Regions from separate parts of the Homo sapiens genome. Here region 2 is linked to region 1. The links are contacts of gene promoters, found by promoter capture Hi-C in blood cells and fetal thymus (Javierre and others, 2016). All regions are on one chromosome and are shown on one strand. Each heading gives the region's core, a stretch centred on a gene start or on the middle of the fragment in contact. The rest is flanking DNA. Distances are from core to core; before and after follow the strand shown.

The links. Contacts are between HindIII fragments. The CHiCAGO score rates a contact against its expected background, and 5 or more counts as called.
Region 2: a contact is called between a fragment that was not itself captured here and the fragment with the promoter of SH3GLB2 in region 1, in 1 of 17 cell types (M0 macrophages). The highest score is 5.4, in M0 macrophages.

Annotation. Positions count from the first base shown.
Region 1 is chr9:129,026,585-129,031,127 of GRCh38, reverse strand. SH3GLB2 (SH3 domain containing GRB2 like, endophilin B2) reads left to right here and starts at 2,797. Exons shown (of 11, transcript NM_020145.4): 1 at 2,797-3,036. The coding sequence starts at 2,974. RefSeq lists enhancers at 1,081-1,820, 1,821-2,560, 3,245-3,808, 3,809-4,372, 4,373-4,543 and silencers at 2,435-2,864, 2,905-3,414, 4,297-4,528. The HindIII fragment of the contact is 23,138 bases long and covers 1-4,543 here.
Region 2 is chr9:128,572,967-128,578,049 of GRCh38, reverse strand. It overlaps SPTAN1 (spectrin alpha, non-erythrocytic 1), which reads right to left. Exons shown (of 57, transcript NM_001130438.3): 4 at 3,235-3,375; 5 at 2,705-2,851; 6 at 1,094-1,227; 7 at 777-921; 8 at 544-698. Among named protein-coding and RNA genes, the nearest start is that of SPTAN1, 23 kb to the right of the region's middle. The HindIII fragment of the contact is 765 bases long and covers 2,443-3,207 here.

The DNA of each region.
Region 1 (4,543 bases), core at 1,548-4,047:
GCAACCTCTGCCTCCTCGGTCCAAGCTATTCTCCTGCCTCATCCTCCCTAGTAGCTGGAACTACAGGCCTACACCACCACGCCCAGCTAATTTTTGGTATTTTTAGTAGAGATGGGGTTTCACCATGTTGTCCAGGCTGGTCTCGAACTCCTGACCTCAGGTGATCCGCCTGCCTCGGCCTCCCAGAGTGCTGGGATTACAGGCGTTTGCCACCGCACCTGGCCTACATCTTGATTTCTTTTTTTTTTTTTTTTTTTTTTTTTTGAGATGGAGTTTCTCTCTTGTTGCCCAGGCTGGAGTGCAATGGCGCTATCTCAGCTGACCGCAACCTCTGCCTCCCGGGTTCAAGCGATTCTCCTGCCTCAGCCTCCCAAGTAGCTGGGATTATAGGCATGCGCCAGCACGCCTGGCTAATTTTGTATTTTTAGTAGAGACAGAGTTTCTCTATCTTGGTCAGCTGGTCTTGAACTCCTGATCTCAGGTGATTCGCCCGCCTTGGCCTCCTGGGATTACATGTATGAGCCACCATGCCTGACTAGATTTTTTTAAAGTTAACACTGGCTAAATGAATGATATAGTCAGCTATAAACAGATGATAGTAAATAAGTCCATGATCAATACAGACAAATAGAAACAAACACATAGTGAACACAAAAACAGAAACACAGAGAATCAGAGTTGAGGGATTGCAGATGTGTGAATGACATGAAAGTTGATGAAGGCAACATGTACATACTGGCCCAAGTACATGACAGGATGGCCCAGGTAGGTGGAGTTTTGAAAGCTCCCAGGTGATTTAATGTTAGAGCCATTGACTTGTTGACCCAGAACCAGGGCTGGGAGAGGGAACAGGGTCTGGATTTTGAACAAGCCCCCAGGTGACTTGAGGCTCACCCTGCAGAGCCATGCTGGGATAGGTGACAGAAACTGGGGTAAGTATAGAAAGATGAACAAAGCCAGATAGAAGAGGGTACAGCTTGGGAACAGAGCTCTCCACTGGGTTCAAAGGTGAAACCTAGGCCGGGCGTGGTGGCTCACACCTGTAATCCCAGCACTTTGGGAGGCGGAGGCAGGTGGATCACGAGGTCAGGAGTTCAAGACCAGCCTGACCAACATGGTGAAACCCCGTCTCTACTAAAAATACAAAAATCAGCCGGGCGTGGTGGCACATGCCTGTAATCCCAGCTACTGTGGAGGGTGAGGCAGGAGAATCGCTTAGACCCCGGGAGGCGGTGGCTGCAGTGAGCTGAGATGGTGCCACTGCATTCCAGCCTGGGTGAAAGAGCGAGACTCCATCTCAAAAAGAAAAAAAAAAAAAAAGAGGAAACCTAGAGGTAGACAGCAAGGAGAGGTGAAGACCAGTACAAAGCCTCTATCTGAGCCCCAAGGGAAGGCATTTGGGGTCAGGAGCACCTGTAGGTCATCTCCTTGCCTGGGGCTGTGAGGAGCTGGTTTCAAGGTTATCACACATCTGTGCTCCCAGGGCAGCTCATTCTCTCCACCCTGACAGTCACCCAACCTTTGATCTCCTCCTCTCACCACACAGGGGGCTCCAGGCCCCAGCTCCAGAACCCCCTCCCTTCCCGTGACCGCCACCCCAACCCTCCTCCAATTTGGGGAAGCCACAGGGCCTCCCAGGCTGACAAACAGCTGTTCCAGCGGTGGAGGGCAAGTCCCAAGCCTGACTCCGGCTCAGTCACCAAGGTCAGGGCAGAAGAGAGGAGGAGAGGTCAGAGAGGAGGAGTAACGGGAGGAAACCCAAGGGAAACAGAGTGGAAGAAATGGGAATGGGAGGGAGGGGGTGTGAATAAAGAGCGGAGATGAAGAGGCACAAACAGGGGAGAGGCAGCAGGCCTGGGTGGTGGGAGGAGAAAGCAAGAGAGGCCCATTTTAGAGATCTGTTGCACATATTGGTGACTACTCAGTCACTTAGTGACTTTGGGAGACTGAGGCAGGCAGATTGCCTGAGATCAGGAGTTCAAGACCACCCTGGGCAACATGGCAAAACCTTGTCTCTCCTAAAGTACAAAAAATTAGCGGGGCATGTTGGTGGGCGCCTGTAGTCCCAGCTACTCGGGAGGCTGAATGAAGCAGGAGAATCGCTTGAGCCCGGCAGGTGGAGGCTGCAGTGAGCCGAGATCGCGCCACTGCACTCCAGCCTGGGCGACAGAGCAAGACTCTGTCTACAAAAAAAAAAAAAAAGTATTGCATATTTCAAAATTGCTAAAAGAGTACATTTGAAATGTTCTAACCACAAAAAAAGTAGGTGAGGTGATGGATATGTCAATTAACTTGATTTCATCATTCCACAATTTCATCACCTTGTAGGCCGTAAATATATATTTATCAATTAAAACTTTTGAAAAGCATTGGTAAGATGGCAAATAATATGTAATTATGGCGTGTACCTGCAATCATCTAAGAGCACATGTGTTCCAGTTTTAATAATTTTAGTAAAAGGAAAAAAAGAGGCCGGCCCAATCCGCGGCGGCAGGCGCATGGGGGCAGCAGCGAGCACTGCCCAGCAGCGAGCCCTGCCCAGCACAACCTGCTCCCCAGACCAACCCCCGCTCTGGCCGCGCCAAGGCCTCGCCCCCACCCATGTAGCTCCGCCCCACTGCCCTCTCGCTCCGCCCCTGTCCCGCCAGTCCCGCCCCCTCCGACTCCGCCCGGCTTCCGCCAACCAGCCCGGCCCCCGCCCCTCTAGCTCCGCCCCACTGCCGTCCCGTCCCGCCCCGGCACCGCCAGCTCCGCCCCCGCCCCTCTGGCTCCGACCCGCGGCCTCCGCGCCCCGCCCTGCGCGCTCGGGCTGGCTCGGCGGCTGCGGCGGGCGGGCAGGCGGGCAGGCCGGCAGGCGGGTGCGCGGAGGGCTGGTGCCCCGCAGCAGGTGGGCGGGGTGCGGTTGGCGGCGGCGGCTGGGCCGGGGGCTGCCGGCTGCGCTCGGGCCGTGCGCGGCGGCCGTGCGGGCACGCCATGGACTTCAACATGAAGAAGCTGGCGTCGGACGCGGGCATCTTCTTCACCCGGGCGGTGCAGGTGAGGCCTGGCGTCGCGCCGTGCGCCGGGGGCCCGGATGTGCGGCGGGCGGGGAGCACCCTGCGGCAGACGCCTGGGGACGCGGGAAAGCCCTCCCGGGCTGCTGCCCTCGTCCCCGCCGCGGCACACCTCTGCCCCCCTGAGCCCTTGCTGACCGGAAGAGGGAAAGAGCCCGTGCGGCCCGAGCCGGGCCTTGGCCCTGCTGCCTGGGGCGAGGCACCGGTGCCCACCCTTTGGGCTGGTTGGGTTACCCTGCTCCCCTGGCGCCTGCCTGGCTGAGGAGGGGAGGAGGCACCGGCTGGGTGCTACCTCCCTGCCCTTGTCCAGCAGTGACTGGCGCCTGGCGGGGCATTTAGCGACCTGGGTCCCAGGCCCAGGGACTCATGCGTCCACCACAACCCCTTCTCCGAGCCTCAGTCTCCGCACCTGTGCAATGGGCGGCTGGTGCCATGAGTCCCTCATGGCCATTTCACACGTTTGGATAGTCAGGCCGGAAGCCAGGAGTTGTTTCTTTTCTGCTCCACGGGAGGTCTGTTTCCTTGGTCCCTGGGCCTGGGGGATGGAGAGAGGGCTGGGGTCTGGCTGGGAAGCTGTCCAGGCCCACGATGCTGAGATTGGAAGAAGTCCTATCCGTTTAGGGGCAGAGAGTAACAGGCAACTCAACATCATGGGAAGACCTAGGGTCAGGTGTGGGTGGGAATGTGCCCTCCTGTGACCTTGGGGGAGGGGCCTTCATCTCACTGGGCCTCAGTTTCTCAGTCTGAAAAATGGGATCAGTATTCCTGCCTCCCAGGACAGATGCGAGGATTCTGTGGGACTCTGCATATGTGTGCTCACCAAAGGCAAGCTCATTATTGGTGTCAAAGTGGTTAATATTGCACCTGTGCAGCATGTGACCTTGGACAAGTCACTTCTCTCAGAGCCCCGCCCTCCCCTTCTGTAAATCTGGTGTAACACCGTGGTTATGGGATTCAGTGGGATTCCGCAGGCCCGGGGCTGGCCCATCCCAGGGTTCTGGGAGCAGGTCCTGTAGTCTTGTCTTTGTCGTTGTCGTTGTCATCGTTGTTGTTTCTGTTGAGTACAGTTCTCTCCCCACCCCCAACCCGGGCACTCCCCTCCCCAGGAGCCCACACCCAGCCAGCAACCCATGTAGTCATGTTTACTAGAAGGTGCTGTGTCCCGCTGAGGATTAGCATCCCAGCGAGAATTCACTGCTTAATGTGTTCCAAGTCTGGTGGGCAGCCCCAGCCCTAGTGGAGATGCCAGGATCCCAGAGCCCCTCGGATTGGACGGCCCCAGTCCATCTGGGAGGGGGGAACCCACTCTGCTGTTGGTATGGCAACCACACTATCTCCCACATCTGGGAAGAACCTGATCTGCCAGTTCCCTGCTAGGGCTGGGGCCCTGCTGCCTGACCTGGCCAGGGCTCTCAGGACCTAGGCAGGGCAGGGCCTAGGTGTGGCTCCGCTTGGTGGGAGCTGCCCCACAGGGTCACTGTTACTGGAGT
Region 2 (5,083 bases), core at 1,576-4,075, 450 kb after region 1:
CTCCCTAAAGCTCTGAATTCTATGTTCTCAAATGTCTAACAAACTATATAAATTCTAATTCTGGGAAATATGAAAATTTCCCAATCTAGACTGTGAAGGAAAGCAAGAGAAGGCTGAAATCAACCCTTTAAAACTTAGGTTCTCTCCATCACTATAATGCCCCAATCCTGTCCCACATTTTCAACTTCCTTGTTATTCCCAGGTTCAACCCTTGGCTAGCAAGGATTCTTTTCCTTTCTAATCCTGGTTTTAATAAGATATTTCATGTGATACTCAGATACTTAAAGGGACATTCCCATTCTATCAATCATAATGCAGTGATGCAGAATAGAAGAATTTATGAAGTTGTAAATACCATACGTATACTACACATGATACAGTTGCCAGTCTCCAAACAGAGAGAACATAGGTAAGAAGTGATTTGCATTTGTAGGTGATACCTGACACTTTCACAGAACACAGAACAGACCCTTAACTCTGCTATTCCTGCTTCCAAAAAAGAAGCCAAATGATACTGGTTAAGACCTGGAGCATTATTTGCACCTGTATGAATCATTGAGCCGTGCATGTCTCTCTGCCGCCAAGGTGCGGATCTGCTCCCAGTTTGTAATCAGTTCCTCTCGCTTCACTTGAATCTGTGTTGCACTCAGAGGGTGGGACTGTTGCAGGCGGTCAGCCTCAGCACACAGGGCTTTGACCTAGAAATGAACTCCGTCAGAACTATTCTCCTGACCCTTGGTAACTTATTTACAGAATCAGCTGCTTGTAAAACCCACCTTGTCTTCTAGAGCAGCAAGATCTCTCTCCAGACCCTCGTGCTTCCGAAGCAGAGCCTGAACACTTGCCAGGTCTCGGCCAAAATCATCAGAGGCCATTAACTGCTCCTTTTCCTTAATCCAACTGATAGTCTCATCCACATCCCTACAGAACAAAGGCACCAGTTAATCCACAGCAATGATGACTCCCTAGAACTAGGAACACCCCATGGGACCAAGGCCTAGTCAGCCTCGACAGCTCACCAGCACATGCCCTGTGCTTCACAACTCCCCTCCAGGTTGAGACCCATTCCCCAAAGCCCACTCTGGCTTGACACCTGTTAAAGCGCTGAACTTCTGCTGCCCCAAAGAGCTTCCCCTGCCTCTGCAGAGCCAGGCCCTTCAGCCGCTGCCAGGCTGCATTGACTTCATCCTGCTTAGTCTTGATCAGTTCCTCCTCAGGGTGCTGCTCCTAAACAAGGAAGAGAAGAGACTGGATTTGTACACAACTTCTGGCTCCTCCAACTAGTTACCCTGGGGTTGGTTCCTTGAAGCATCTCAGCAAATCACCACTCTGAAGAGAATCACAAGAAATAATGGTCAACATGATACAAAGTGAACTACAACTCCAAAGAGTTTCTATTTCTTATGTAAAAAGGGGAGAGCCATTCTCTATCTTTTGGAGTAGTGTGGTTAGTCTATAAGGTGGTTATGTGCAAAAGTGCCAAAAACCTTTATGTTAATAAATAGTTTGGCAACAACTGTGTGGTAACTTTATCAATGTACTCATCTACCCTAACTGCTTGAAAATTTGGTATTTCAGATGTTCATGAGGCTGTTAAGCATTCTTGCACATAAACATAATTTTCGGGGCTCAAGAGTTTGTCCCTGGCTTTAGACTGACGACATTTCTTTTTTTCTTTTTTGAGACAGGGTCTTGCTATGTTACCCAGGCTGGTCTCAAGTGATCCTGTCTTGTCAGCCTGAGTCTGAGTAGAGTAGCTGGGTCTATAGGCAGGTGCCACTGCATCAAGCTTAGAGACATTTCTTTAAAAGTATCCTTCCCTACCAACCACATTTTGGTGTTTTAAAAAATATGATACAAAGTAATAAAATGAAGCATTTCAGGGTTCTTGAATCCATCTGGGATACCATGGGTTTGGCCTGACTACTTTTCTCAAGCTCAACCGCAGGAAAGCTTAGGGTTTGGAAAAGCAACACATCTGTCACTGTGGAAGGGTGAGATATTTCTGAGGAATGCCGGGTATCTTTCTCTTAATCACTGGCCAGAAAATGGAAACAAGTACCAGCCTATAAGCAGATTTATACACTTAAAATTTGTACCCCCCAAATCAAATTTCCCTAAAAGTAAAAACTCTCTGGTTCCGAGTACTTGATGTCTTTGGAACCCTTTGGACTCGTAGTGGAAGCAGCTTACAGGATTGTACACGTGGGCACTGGGGAAGGGTTGTCATTCCCTCTTAATGGGCTCCAGCGCCAGAGTGGAGAGCCTATTCACGACAAGGTTCTCCCAGGCTCCCAAGAGAGCCCAGGGAAGCTTCAAATAAAAAAGGAAGGCAAGAGCCCTAATGCATTGGTGGACATCTGCCAATACTAACTTAGCATTCACCACCACACCCTCGTCTGAGAAACCCTGAGACCTAGCTTCAGCAGTCCAATAAAAGCTTCACCCAGCCCTACCCAAAAGTGGGTAGAGGAAACAGATCAAATGAACTCTGCCCTTCCTGCCCAAGGCAACACATTGAAAAGCATTTTCCAATTTAGGAGTAATCAGTATTGTGCCTCACATCTAAACAAAACTCTCAGACATGCTTACAAAAACTTGCTCACTCAGAAATTAGGGGACCAATCATCAAAATTTTATCCTGAATATACTAAAAAGTTAACATAATAATGTTGTGAGAAGCATACAGCACTTTGCTATTTACCTGTATGAGTTTGGCAGCAAACTGGTTCACTTCATTAACTCTTTCTTCATGAGCAGCCATATCTGTTTGAAACTCTTCAAATTTCTTCTGTAAAACCTCTACATGCTCCAGATCCTGGCCCAGCTCTTCAGAAGTAACAATTGCTTCCTATTCAGGGACCATAAGAGAGCCAGAGTCACCAACCAACATTTGTTAACAATGGCTTCCAGAAACATCAAACAGACACATTAGGGACGGAGCCATGTTAGCTTTAATGGATACAGTTTTGTCTGTGGTTTGTGATTTTAGTTCCTCCCACAGAAAGTTAAGAGGTTGAGTTCACGGCATTTCTGTCTCAGCGACTCCAGGCTTCAGAGTTACAGAATAGCACATACACCTAGAGAGCAGCTGGAGAGACAGCAACCCCACTTCCACCCTTTTACTTAAAATGGCCGTATCTGTGCTAACACTGGGTCTCACTACAGATCACAGAGGAGTCTCTTCCCTTTTCTTTGAGTAAAGCTTAGCAAACCCTTCTTCCCAAAACGTGCCTTGTCATTGATCCAGTCCATCACGTCCTCACATTCTCGTAAGTACTGCACCAACTTCTGGGCCTGCAGCAGTTTGATTCCTTTTTCTCGCATCTTCTCCAAAAGTAATTCCCACTGGCGGTGCAGCTCCATCAAACGGGTCTGAAAGTTTCAAATCAGAGTTTTAATCAGATCACAACTGGCTCTGTGGGATCTGGCTCTTCCATAGAGTTTAGACAAGTTAGAGACCTTATGGAGCGCTGAATAAAAATATTTTTAAAAGATAATCCCTAAACTGAGAGGAAATAGTAAATTTAACTGGCAGTAGGGAAAAGTCCACAGTTCACAGTGGTTTTTTGGTGGTCTTCAAGTTACAAGTAGGTAGATCTACTCTAGTTCTTTCACAGGTAGATTTACTCTAGTTTACATCAGGAAAATCATTATCATTTATATTATTAATAATATCTTTATATTTCATTTATAATTATATTTATGATATATTTATATTGTATAGTTATATATTTTAGTATTATATAATAATAGGTACACAATTGATACTATTAATTATTATTAAATTATTAGAGTGGAATTCCTAATCCAGAAGACTACTGGGAAAGGAAAAATGAGGAATTAATGTGTAAACTGAGCTGAAATTACTGAAGGATGTATTCCAAATTCATGGAGATAAAGGGAAAAAAACAAAAGAAGAGGTCTTATAGGCATCATCAATGTAAAAACTATGAGGCACAACAGGAAAATCTTGGTGGAAAAGTAGTAAAGGGGAGGCTGGGTGCAGCGGCTCATGCCTGTAATTCCAGCACTTTGGGAGGCCGAGGCGGGCAGAGCACGAGGTCAGGAGTTCAAGACCAGTCTGGCCAGCATGGTGAAACCCCATCTCTACTAAAAGTACAAAAATGAGCCGGGTATGGGGGCGCACACCTGTAATCCCAGCTACTCAGAAGGCTGAGGCAGGAGAATCACTTGACCCCAGGGAGTTGGAGCTTGCAGTGAGCCATGATTGTGCCACTGTGCTTCAGTCTGGGCGACAGAGCGAGACTCCGTCTCAAAAAAAAAGTAGAAAAGGGCTGGGCGCAGTGGCTCACTCCTGTAATCCCAGCACTTTGGAAGGCTGAGGTGGGCAGATCAGGAGGTCGGGAGTTCGAGACCAGCCTGGCCAACATGGTGAAACCCGTCTCTACTAAAAATACATAAATTAGCCGGGCATGGTGGCACACACCTGTAATCCCAGCTACTCGGGAGGCTGAGGCAGGAGAATTGCTTGAACCTGGGAGGTGGAGGTTGCAGTGAGCCAAGATTGTGCCATTGAACTCCAGCTTTGGGCAACAGAACAAGAATCCATCTCGGGAAAAATAAAAAAGTAGAAAAGATGGGGTCCTGAAAAGTCATCAGCTATCAAAAAGGATCCCTGATAGAAAAAACTTTGGACCTTCTGTGAAAAGACAGTTTGTGGTACATCTCAAGTGAGGTTTATTCCAAACTTCACCCAAGTGGCAGCCACAGGGTCAAACGTATTCACTTCCCAGCATCTTTGGGTTCTCATAACACAGGCCCAGTAAGGACTTATCAAGAATTGGAGGAAATTAGTAATCAATTCAAGCTTAGATGATGCATTCTGGTATTCCAATCCAACCTCAATGCCTTGATTATGCCTACCCAAGATACTGGGAGTTTCTGTACAACACTGACAGACATAAGTAAAACAAACAAAGCGGTTTAAACACTAACAGAAAAGAAGTCTGGGATCCACCCATGATTGAGATGTCACTCCTAGCAAAATGAAAACCTGAAAACCATGTGACAGTCAACATGGGTGGATTCTCTTAGAAACAAGTGTGGATGTTTTACTTGA